Linked DNA regions of Homo sapiens: all the other regions are linked to region 1. The links are contacts of gene promoters, found by promoter capture Hi-C in blood cells and fetal thymus (Javierre and others, 2016). All regions are on one chromosome and are shown on one strand. The core of a region is centred on a gene start or on the middle of the fragment in contact, and the rest is flanking DNA. Distances in the headings are between cores, read along the strand shown.

What was found. Contacts are between HindIII fragments. The CHiCAGO score rates a contact against its expected background, and 5 or more counts as called.
Region 2: a fragment that was not itself captured here is called in contact with the fragment with the promoter of BTBD1 in region 1 in 1 of 17 cell types (activated CD4 T cells); the score reaches 5.9 in activated CD4 T cells.
Region 3: a fragment that was not itself captured here is called in contact with the fragment with the promoter of BTBD1 in region 1 in 4 of 17 cell types (fetal thymus, naive CD8 T cells, naive CD4 T cells and 1 more); the score reaches 9.1 in fetal thymus.

The regions. Positions count from the first base shown.
Region 1 is chr15:83,065,646-83,069,424 of GRCh38, forward strand. It overlaps BTBD1 (BTB domain containing 1), which reads right to left and starts at 1,607. Exons shown (of 8, transcript NM_025238.4): 1 at 1,106-1,607. The coding sequence starts at 1,506. MIR4515 (microRNA 4515) reads left to right here and starts at 1,690; the gene lies at 1,690-1,770. RefSeq lists silencers at 925-1,094, 1,335-1,814, 3,691-3,740 and enhancers at 1,875-1,994, 2,005-2,054, 3,492-3,779. The HindIII fragment of the contact is 13,987 bases long and covers 1-2,355 here.
Region 2 is chr15:81,291,650-81,295,428 of GRCh38, forward strand. It overlaps IL16 (interleukin 16), which reads left to right. Exons shown (of 19, transcript NM_172217.5): 12 at 907-1,388. Among named protein-coding and RNA genes, the nearest start is that of STARD5, 31 kb to the right of the region's middle. RefSeq lists enhancers at 863-992, 1,805-2,323, 2,503-2,592, 2,623-2,682. The HindIII fragment of the contact is 1,773 bases long and covers 701-2,473 here.
Region 3 is chr15:82,046,191-82,049,969 of GRCh38, forward strand. No RefSeq gene overlaps it. Among named protein-coding and RNA genes, the nearest start is that of MEX3B, 2.1 kb to the left of the region's middle. RefSeq lists an enhancer at 131-1,077 and a silencer at 758-1,077. The HindIII fragment of the contact is 2,871 bases long and covers 404-3,274 here.

The DNA of each region.
Region 1 (3,779 bases), core at 357-2,856:
AAACAGACATGGTCTTCAGTGTGAGTTAGCTGTTTGTTACCTTGGGCAAGATACTTGACTCTTCTGGGCCTCAGTCCCATTTGTGAAATTGGGGTAAACAATTCTTACGCCTCCCTAACAGGATGGCTGTGATTAAAAGCTAGTAATGCCAAACAATCACCTTTTCATTAGATGTCAATCTACTATCCTCAAATAACCAACAAGCAAATTCTAACATCAAGGGAGGGATTCATTTATAAGCAAATGTGACCTTGTGTGTAGAAACACAAAGCAGGTAAAGCCTCACTTGTCTGTTTTCGTATTTACTTTCCTGGGTCTTGACAACTAATACGTTAATGAAAAACAAAAACAAAAACAAAAAAGTGGCCAGGCGCGGTGGTTCACGCCTGTAATCCCAGCACTTTGGGAGGCCGAGGTGGACGGATCGCTTGACCCCAGGAGTCCGAGACCAGCCTGGGCAACATAGTGAAACCCTCTCTCTACCAAAAATAAAAATAAAAAAAATTAGCCGGGCGTGGTGGCGCGTGCCTGTAGTCCCAAATACTCGGGAGGCTGAGGTCGGAGCATCACCTGAGCCCGGAGAGGTCGAGGCTGCAGTGAGCCATGATCGCGCTACAGCATTCCAGCCTGGGCAACAGAGCAAGACCTTGTCTCAAAAAAAGCGGGGGGAAGGGGGTGACAATAACCCCAAAACATCAGTCCTGCAAGATTTTTCAACTACTCTCTTCCCCCAAACAAAAACATAAAACTTCGCAAATGGGCAATCAGGACAACCTGATCTGCCCCTCTATCCTTGCCACTTGTCTAATTCTGAAGTCTGAGCGACAATCCATAATTGGAATGCGAAACGCCTTTCAATGGTAAAACGCACGCTTGCCTAATGAAGACACTAACGTTTAGTTGGCGACTGAGCCGTCCTGGTTCACAGATTTCGATTTCGACCCTCCGGAGCATCAACGGCTCGGGAGGAAACTGAGGCCCCGGGCGGGTCAGAAGAGCCCAGCCCAAGGTCATCCGGGAGTCCGGGTAGGCCGGGCCCCGGGGATCTCCCAGCCCGGCCCGGCCCGGCCCGGCCCGGCCCGGCCCGGCCCGCGCTGCCGCTCACCTCAGCAGCGCCAGGAAGGCTGCGGGCTCCACGTCCGGCAGCTCGATCTCGGCCGACGTGGTGGCCATGCCGCCGTTGAACATGGCGTCAAAGACGGCGCTGCCGGCCGCCAGCACGAAGCGGTGGGCGGGGATGCGCTGCGGGCCCCCAGCGGCGGCGGCGCCGCGACCCTTGCCCAGTACGAAGCGCACATCGCTCAGCAGCTCCGAGTTGAAGAGGAAGGCGAAGCGCTCCTTCAGCGACGCCTTGGTCGCCTGCCAGTTGTAGAGAGGTTCCCGCTGCAGGGGGAGCAGGGGCCCCAGAGAGGACGGTGAGGGCGGCGGCGGCGGCCCCGCGGGGCCCGGCTCCGCCTCAGCCCCCGACGCCTGCTCCCCAGCTGCGGCAGGCCCGAGTGAGGCCATCCTCCAGCTGCGCGGTTGCCCACGTTATGGACAAAACTCCGCCGCCATCGCCCAGGCCGCCTCCGGAGGCCGGCGCTGCCTCCCTGCCTTCCGGGAAAGGCGCTTCCGGGGGCCTCGCGCCTCCGCAGGCCCCTCCCTGACCGCGCGCGCCCCCGCACGCCCGGGTTGCCGCTGTGCGCGGCCGCGGGAGGTGTAACAGGACTGGACTCCCGGCAGCCCCAGGGCAGGGGCGTGGGGAGCTGGTCCTAGCTCAGCGCTCCCGGAGGTGGAGCTTCTGCAGGCTGGGTGCTGCCGGGCCTACGGGCACCCACCCCCTGGCTCAGTGCCCTGGGTATTCTGACTCAGTAGGTCTGGGGTAGGGCCTGAGAATTTGTAATTTTAAGATGCATCGTGGATCTGCAGGCGGCTCTCACGGCTGCCTTTTTCTTCCTGCAGGCCCCTTATCACCAAGTCCAGCGCCCCCATTGTGTATCTGGGACATGTCCCAAGGCCTGTCCCGAGGAGTGTTTTGCCTGGAAGTGGAGGGGCAGGAAAGTATGGCCAAGGGAACACGTGAGGGAGGGGATGACATGACTTCCCACAACCCTGTACCCCAAGCGTGGCCAAGTCGCCGCTCCAGAAGGCCGCGAAACCCGTGGAAATTCCGGAAGCAGAGGTGGAAGGCTTAGAACCCCAGTGACCTCTCCCCAGGTCCGCAGGTCCCTTTCCCTTCTAATTGACCCTTTGGTTCCGTCCTCTGGGCCTAAGAGACATTTCCTTCTACTGCTTCCACCCCTGTATTTGAAACCCCTCGTGCTTGCCCACCTTCTCTTGTAGCGCTTTTCAGTCCTTGCACTGAACCACTGCCTAAGCTTGAAATTTAAAAAATTAAAAACTAAAACACACACACAATGGAAAAGGCTGTATTATCCCTTCCCAGGCAGTATTTACAACCCGGTCATCATGATTGGGGGACCGAGGCCTTCCTTTTTCTCCCTTCAGTGAGGCAGGCCCTGAGTTAAGTCAGCTGTCAAAAGCAGAACGTAGAAAACCCAAGAAATAGTCCTTGACCAGGCACGTATAGTTGGAAACACCTGTTCTTTGCAGGAAGAGCCTTACAGATTACAAATGCCGTCAAGTAAATAGTAAACCCCAAACCTGGGTTTCTCCTGTAAAATCACTCCACTTGTGAAACCACCAGAGGGGACTTCCAGCTGTTAGGCATTTAGAATGGTAACTTCTTTGGGAGAGGAACGTGCTTGGGAAGAGACTTAAAGTAGTAGGGGCTGAAATAGTGGATGCACAACCCCTTCCCCATTGCCAGCCGGCAATTCCTAAAGACAAAGGGACATCATGCTACTAATGATACCATTATCACACCTAACAAAATTAACCATATCATCAAATCATCTATATATGATTTTTTTTTTTTTGAGACGGAGTCTCGCTCTGTTGCCAAAGCTGGAGTGCAATGGCATGAAGTCTGCCTTCCGGGCTCAAGCGATTCTCCTCCTCAGCCTCCCGAGTAGCTGGGGTTACAGGTGCGTGTCACCACATCCAGCTAATTATTTGTATTTTTAGTAGAGACGGGGTTTCACCATATTGGCCAGGCTCCTCTCCAAGTCCTGACCTCGTGATCTACCCGCCTCGGCCTCCCAAAGTGCTGGGATTACAGGCATGAGCCACCAGGCCTGGTCCTATGTATAATATTTAATGTACAGTTAATATTTGTTTCTCCACTTGTCTCTAAAAAAATTTTTTTTTGAGACGGAGTCTTGCTCTGTTGCCCAGGCTGGAGGGCAGTGGCATGATCTCCGCTCACTGCAAGCTCTGCCTCCCACGTTCACGCCATTCTCCTGTCTCAGCCTCCCGAGTAGCTGGGACTACAGGCACCTGCCACCAAGCCTGCTGATTTTTTTTTTTTTTTGTATTTTTAGTGTGTCCAGAGTTCGTTCCTTCTGGTGGGTTCGTGGTCTTGCTGACTTCAAGAATGGAGCTGTGGACCTTCCTGATGAGTTTTATAGCTCTTAAGATGGCAGGGACCCAAAGACTTCTTCTGAAGAGCAAAAGAACAAAGCCCTTATGTCATGGAAAGGAACCCCAACGGGTGGTTGCAGTCTCTGGGCGTGGGGGCAGGAGGGGAGGGGCCGGCGGGGGTGGGGGGGGTGGAGTCAGCTTTTACTTCCTTATTTGTCCCCGCCCATGTCCTGCTGATTGGTCCATTTTACAGAATGCTGATTGGTGCACTTTACAGAGTGCTGATTGGTCTATTTTACAGGGTGCTGATTGGTCCA
Region 2 (3,779 bases), core at 337-2,836, 1.8 Mb before region 1:
GAGAGAAGGGCCTCTCAAGGATGTGTGGGTAGCCCTAGTGCTGGAAACTAGGGTAGGGGGTACTGAGAACCAGGAAGGGCTAATGGGGAGGGAGGGAGGAAGGTGCAGTGGCTAAGAAATAGCGGCTTTCTGCCCTCACCTCACCCTCAACTGGAAAGAAATAGTGACTTCTTCGTGTAAGATTCAAAGTGCCTTGACAGGTAGTTTCTCTGTCTTTGTTATTGAGCCTCAAAATAACCCCAGTGACTTTAAAATTATCATCCTCATTTTACAGATGCAGAAATGGAGTTGGGTCCCCCAGGAAGCTGACTCTGAGATGGAGTTTGGTCTGCAGGCAGTGTCCTGGGGTTCACTACCTGTGGCAGGGAGGGGAGCAGGCAGGGTAGACAGAGGGAGGACGGAGCTGAGGTGCACACCCAACAGCTTCAGCCAAGCCCTGGAGCTCTGCAGCCAAAGTCCCCATTAGAGTTGTCCTATGTTGGCCAACATAGCTGGGCCTCTGTAACCCTATCTCCAGCAGTCCCTGGAGATGGGCTGCCCCATTGGACAAGGCAGCTGTCTGCAGCTGTGGCAGCCCCTGGAGGGACCCACAGCTGAAAGTAGTCTGCCAGCAGCACTCCCCACAGCTGGGACACCAAGCCCTTCCTCGATGGGTGATCTGGGTGGCATATCTCCATATACATCAGTCATAGGCTCAGAAAGCTTGAATGATTTTCCCAACCCAAAGTCATACAGCTCGCCAGGGACCAACACCAAGACTGCCATACTCCAGATCCACAGTGACTTCAGATAAGAAGCAGATGGCCGATGTGCAGTGTGCTGCCCGTGGCAGTCACAGGTGAGGCCAGGGGGTATTTCTGTTTTCTGAAGCTCAGCTGTGAAGATTCTCTTGTGCTTCCCACACAGGTGTCAAAAGGCTGGAAAGCAGTTGGCACGGGCGGCCCACCTTGGAGAAGGAACGAGAGAAGAACTCAGCACCCCCGCATCGCAGGGCTCAGAAGGTCATGATCCGCTCCAGCAGTGACAGCAGCTACATGTCTGGGTCCCCAGGGGGAAGTCCTGGGAGTGGCAGTGCTGAGAAGCCGTCCTCTGACGTGGACATCAGCACACACAGCCCCAGCTTGCCTCTGGCACGGGAGCCAGTGGTGCTTTCTATAGCATCCTCCAGGCTGCCCCAGGAGAGCCCACCCCTCCCAGAGAGCCGGGACAGCCACCCGCCGCTGAGACTGAAGAAATCCTTTGAGATTTTGGTGAGAAAGCCTATGTCCTCCAAGCCCAAGCCTCCACCCAGAAAATACTTTAAAAGTGACAGTGACCCTCAGAAGAGTCTGGAAGAGAGAGAGAACTCCTCATGCTCTTCTGGGCACACCCCACCCACCTGTGGCCAGGTAAGAGGATGGGTCCACAGGTTGAGTGTTTCCAGGACCAGACTCAAATCTTGAGCATGGGCAAATTAGCAAGTTAGTGTTAGCAGGGCCAGAATGAAAGTTTCTCCTGCTCCACCAGAGAGAAACTGTTGCCTAGGACTCAGCTGAGGACTGACCATGAAAAGATGGGTTTGAAGGTTGACAGATAATTGAAGTCCCAGTCCTGCTTGCTGGCATCTGGGTTCCCACCCATAACACACTGGAATTTAAGGTTCCTTTCTTGTGTCATTTTTCACTCACCATGAAGGAAAAATACCAGGGCCCCTGCAGGGTCTCAGTCTTTGCATGTGGATCTTTGAGTGTCCTGCTTGTAGGGAGAATAGTGGCTTAAATAACTAAAAAGGGGCCTGGCACGGTGGCTCATGCCTGTAATCCCAGCACTTTGGGAGGCTGAGCCGGGTGGATCATGAGCTCAGGAGTTCAAGACCAGCCTGGCCAAGATGGTGAAACCCTGTCTCTACTAACAATACAAAAATTAGCCGGGTATGGTGGCAGGTGCCTGTAATCCCAGCTACGCAGGAGGCTGAGGCAGGGAATTGCTTAAACCCGGGAGGAGTGGCTCCTTCCAAGGGCTATTGTGAGGATTAAAGGTAACCACTTAAGGCAAGTACCTGACAGCATCTCAGGCATATTAGCATTCATTGCCATGATCTTTCCCCATCAGGCCCCTTAAAGCCCTCCTTTCCACCCCTTGCATAAAAGGCAGACTGACTGACAGACAGCTGCTGTGTCTAGAACCATTTTATGCGCAGGCTAACCACACTGAGTACTTTCATGTACATTGTGTCAATTAAATCTTACAACCACCTGATGGTGAGAGTCCCAGTTGTGCAAAGAGGGAACTGAGAAACTCGCTCAAGTTCACATTGCTAGTGGGTCACAGTTACCCACTATGCAATGCTGAGTTTCCCATCCTTACCCAGAAGCTGTCTCCCCCATCACGGAATGGCCCTGCAGGGGCCCTGGCCCTTCCCTTAAGCACACCGTGGGCAGGTGGGAGGGGGCCTCTGGAAATCCCCTAAAACAATCTACAGTGAGGGTTGGCAAGCTTCAGGAGGGGTAGCGGTGGAGACGGGATGTTGAGTAGGAGGGGTGAAAGTGAAGGAGGGAGGAGGAAGCCAGGTTACTAAAAAGGAAGTGCAGTTTTGCAGAGCGCTGGCAGGATGTGGCTGGTTAGCAACACATGATGGAGTTATCAGATGGATCTGTTCTCCCACCCCCTCTTTTAAGCCCATATTTCATTTTCCCTTGGGCCTGAGACCTATGAGTCCAGAAGGGCAAATCAGGAGCAGCCAGCTGAGAAGCCAGTCATTTTGCCTTCCTCCTGGAGGCCCAGAAAAGGAGTGCAGTTGCCACAGCAGGTCTGTCCCAGTGATGCCCTTGGCAGAGCCACATAGGGTCAGGGAATATTCCCGAGTAAGGCGTCTGGAGAAGGAACTGGGGTGTCCTCAGGGAAGCCCAGGCAAGGAACTTCCCACAGGTCATCTTTCATGCCCTGTGTGCCTCAGCAGAATACAGGGCTCCCTCCTGTACCTGCCCCCAACAGCACCGTCTCCTGGAGACAAGGCCGTTCTGCAGCTGCCCTCCTCTGTTTGCTCTGGTCTGTCCCACGTGGCCAGCAGATCCTTCTCCCACAAACATTTCCATAAAAGCAATCAGCACGACATAATTTTATTGGGCACTGGAGAGGCGGGGGTCACAGAGAAAGGATCATAGCACGCAATAGAAAACAGGAAGCAATTTGCTTGAGGTCACTCTCAAAATTTCCTTGACCATTCCTGGGGATTTCTCACTGGATGTTTTCTTCCGTGGCCACAGTGTCCACTGTCTCACTCTCCCACTTTTCCCTCCCTGCAGTCTTTTCTCTACAGGGTCCCAAGACTGTTGTCAAGCTGCTATGGATGACCCCCAAGTCTTTCCCATCTACTCTAATTCAAGGGGACTTAACTCTCACAACCAATATGAACTTTGGGATATTTTCTTCAACAAAAAACTAACATCCCTCTTATAAAAAATCAGCCTAAACTCTCCCCCGTGCTTTAAAAAACTTGCTTAAAAAAACACAACAGGATTTTCGAAGAATCCTTTCTTAGAAAACAAACAAAAAAACCAAACAAAAACGTACTTTCTCCCCACTATGCTGAATCTGCTCTCTCCCTCTTTCCTTCTTTCTCTTCTCCCTCCCTCATCCACCAAGCATGGTTCCAGGAAACACTAGTAAGAGAAAAATTTGTGTAAAATCAAATTTATTTCAGGGGCTAATTCTGAAGTCTCCCATGAAGAGGATGCAATATTGGATGTGTTGATGAAAAGACAAAACACATTTGTGCTGTTCTAAGTTGTAAAGCTGCA
Region 3 (3,779 bases), core at 589-3,088, 1.0 Mb before region 1:
CGTCACAGGCGGGAGCTGACACCACAATGCTACTGACACTATCGCTGGGGGAGGCGATTGGCGCGCGCCAGGCCGGGGGCGGGAGGAGGCCGCGGGTTGAGCGAGCGGAGAGAGAGCGCCACCCCCCACCCCCGCGCTCGCCGCAGCCCGCCCCGTCCTCCTCCCGGCCGCGCCCCTCCCCCGCCGCCGCTAACGCCTCTCTTTGTTGTCTAATGCGGGACTGGCAGGCTCGGGACACTTGGATGTACCTATCAGCCGAGGACAATCATTGTCCCTAAGTCTCCTCCCTCGCCTGACTGAGAAAAGAAAACGCGCCCAACTCTGATGCCTGGAGCCGGGCTCTAAAAGAGCGGTCCTCAGGAAGTCCCGTTAGTGGCTCCAAATAAACCATCCGTGGAGCCAAAGCTTCCTCTGTGAGAAGAGTCTGTAGTCCGCCCAAAAGGGCGACCCGAGCCCTCCGACACGGAAAACGGGACTCCAGGTCTTGGGGCGCACGGGCAGAGTGACTCCCGGCGCGGGTTGTCCACCTGCGCGGGAGCGCACGAGACACAAAAGCACACGCCCGCCCACACTGGCAACCGCGCGCGCGCGCGCCCGCGCCTGCATTTCTGTCTCCTTGGGCAGCACTTCGCCCAACTGGCCCTGAAACTGAGGATGGGAAAGCTAAAAGCTGGCTGCCGCGCGAGCTCGGCCCGCCCGGCCGCTGGCGACCTCTGGAATGCATGGCACCAGTGTCCAGCACACGCCCGGCGCCCGGGCCGAGACCCTGCGGGTTCTGACACGCGCACGAGCGCCGCGCCGCCACCGCGGGGACGCAGGCCACAGCGCCAGCGGGCGGCGCGGGCGTGCGCGCCCGCTGTTCCCATCCCTCCCCTCCGTGCCCCGCGGCCGAGCATGCGCAGTGCGCGCGAGGAGCGGGCGGGCCCTTTAAGGCGGGCGCTGCGGAGCGCGCGCCGGCCCCGCCCGCGGCCCCGCCCCGACGGGAGGTGAGCGCTCCCTGCCCGGCCGCTCTTTGTGCGCTTCTCGGGGTGGGGGTGGCGGCAGAGGGAGGTTGCGACGGCACTTGCCGGCGAGGACGGCGAGCTGCGCCCCCTCCCGGATCTCCCAGGGACCGTCTCCGAGTGCGAGAGAGAAGGAAGGAGGATTTGAGGGGCGGGCCGGGGCGGTGCGCGCTGGTCCTCTCCGCGCGCATCCCCCTCCGCCGCCCACTAGGGCGGACGCCCCTTCGGGCCCCGCGCGCTCTGCTGTCCTTTGTTCCGGGAGCCGCCGGGCTCGCCGCGCCCTTTGCGTCCCGCTGCGGATCGTTCCGCAGAGCGGCTGGGCCCGCGGTTCATAGAGTCGCCCAAGATCCTCACAGAGGGACGTCTTCCCAAAACAATGAGGCCATGCGGCCGCAGCCGCACACGGGCTGACTGGGGAGATCTCGTGGTGCCGCGGGGCGGTCCCGGGGCTCGAAGGCAGAGGCTCCCCTAGGTGTGCCCTGCCTGACCCCGGCTACAGGAACGAGCGCTGTGGGCCTCGGTTTCTCACCCGTAAAATGAAGAAAATAATCCCCGCCTTTACCACCTCGTGGGTCGTTCGGAAGATTAAATGCGACAGTGGATGGGCGCGCGCTTACAAATCAGTAGACAGTTCCGCAAGCGCCTTTACTTTTGAGAACGCGGTGGTGCAGCTCCCTTCACCGCTTGCTTACCTGGAGCTGTCTTGGGAAAGAGGTGCTGATTATTTCCTTGGGGAAATGGGTTTAGAAGCCACTTACAGTGGTTATTTCCTCAGGATGTTTACGTCAGCTTCCCGGAGCCTGGTGTGTGTTTTTCTTAAAAAGGAATGTTCGATGGGAGGAGGCAGGTGGGAGGATGGTGCCGAGTCCTCCGTGAAAACCACCACTTAGAGCTCCAGTAGGAAATTACTGTATTCTTTTGACCCGGTTTATGGACTTGGAATCCAACTAACTTGGGAATGAGGGTTCTTGCCGAGATGGAGGGTTTTGAGTAAGGGGTCCTGGCTGGGGAGAGCCAGAGATGAGGCCCAGCCTCCCGCGCTCACGCAAGGCCTGTAAACAGAAAGCAGACTGGAAAGGCGCTTGGAGCATTTCCATCTTTTTAACACAAAGGGCTAGTTTCTCGCCTCTTAGCTCTGTTTCTTTGAAATTTCATAGCCTTCGGATTGGGCCTGCTGAGGTTTCTTTTTTTTTTCCAAGTAGAAAATATGGTGACAGTAAAGTTGTTCCTCCGCTGATAAGGAGCTGTGCACGGATAATGGGGTGTAGGGAGAGGTTGCTTCTGCTAGGGAGCTTGGCCGCTAATAGTTTCAGACCTGCCATAACTCCTTCTCCTTGCATCTACAGCGATAAGAATTCAGATGGATTAATTCTGAAACGTGTTTAAACTTAGAGGATTGGATATTTCAGAGGAGTCCCTGGGTGGCTGGGTCATTACCCGGAAGGTGAATGCAACATTTCTCCAAGGTGACATGTTTAATGTCATTCTTCCCTGCTGGATCCTGAAGGCAGGACTTGTACTTGGCTGTAACTGCCAATGTTCAATGAAATCATACATCTTCACCCACATGAAGGATAAGCTGAACCCCTTACCATAGGAATTCATGGAAAGCTGCCGATCCTGAGGTGCCCATGTTCATGTAGCCCAGGTCACCCTCCACAGAGAGGAACACTTGAGTAAAACCTATACAGAGATCCGCATGCTTTTCTGAAGACACCCACAAAAGCGAAGGCACTCTCAAGAGCATGGGAGGGTGGTGAGAGTGATAGAAGCAGTTACTATGTCTGACAGATCTAGTTTCCAGCCCCAGCTGTTCTTCAGTGTTGGCTGTCAAAAGAGGACGGCATCCAGCTTCCCACCTACCTCATAGGGTTGCTTTAGCGAGACGGATAATGATAGCAAAAGCTAACTCGTAAATTCCCAGGTACTCAGCAAATGTAGTTGGCGCTTTACTCACAGCTACTCCTTGCCTTCTCTATTTGTATACCTTACTGACTGGTCAGGATATTTTCCGACACTTGACTGCTGTTGTAAAAGTAACAATCCAGAAATTTTAATTCTCAGTTAGTGGCTTTAATAAGCCAAGATATTGTAAAACTTGCAAAGTCCGGTTCTGTTTTTCAATAGATAATACATCCTAACCCCATAGTTTCTGGATAGACTTTCCCAGGCTCCTTTAGGACCCCAGAGCTTAATTACTTTTCCTGATGCAGAACACATTCCCTAAGGACTTCTCGATGTGGCCATAATATTTTTTATTAGCACAGGAGAGAAGCTTGCAGAATGAGGTCTGGCAGTATAATAGAGAATTTCAGTTGTCATAAAATGAGAAAAAGTAAAGTTATCACACAAAAACAAGATTAATGATGAGGCAACCTTGTTTTGTTTCCAGATGTCTCAAAACTATTTTGTGCACATCTTGCTTACTTTTGCAAATTAAATAGCTTGCAAAAGAAACGGAAATCTTCCTGTGAAAACAAACACATGCTCAGTCAACTCATTTAAGATTATTGAGCACCTCCATACTGTATTATAGGCACAGAGAGAAGTATCGATTATACTGAACTGAAATGAACAAAGGTGGCAGAGGGGCAGGATAATGTCTTTTCCTTGAATACTAGTGATGTCCAAACCCAGTCACACAGAGAGATAAGTGCCCAGATAGTAGTGAGTCGGCTTAGGGTCCTAGAAGGGCTTCCCAGAGGAGGGGATACCTGAGTTGTGCTTCCAGTGAATGTGGTGTGAGAATGAATTGAGACTGGAGCCTAGCACAGTGCA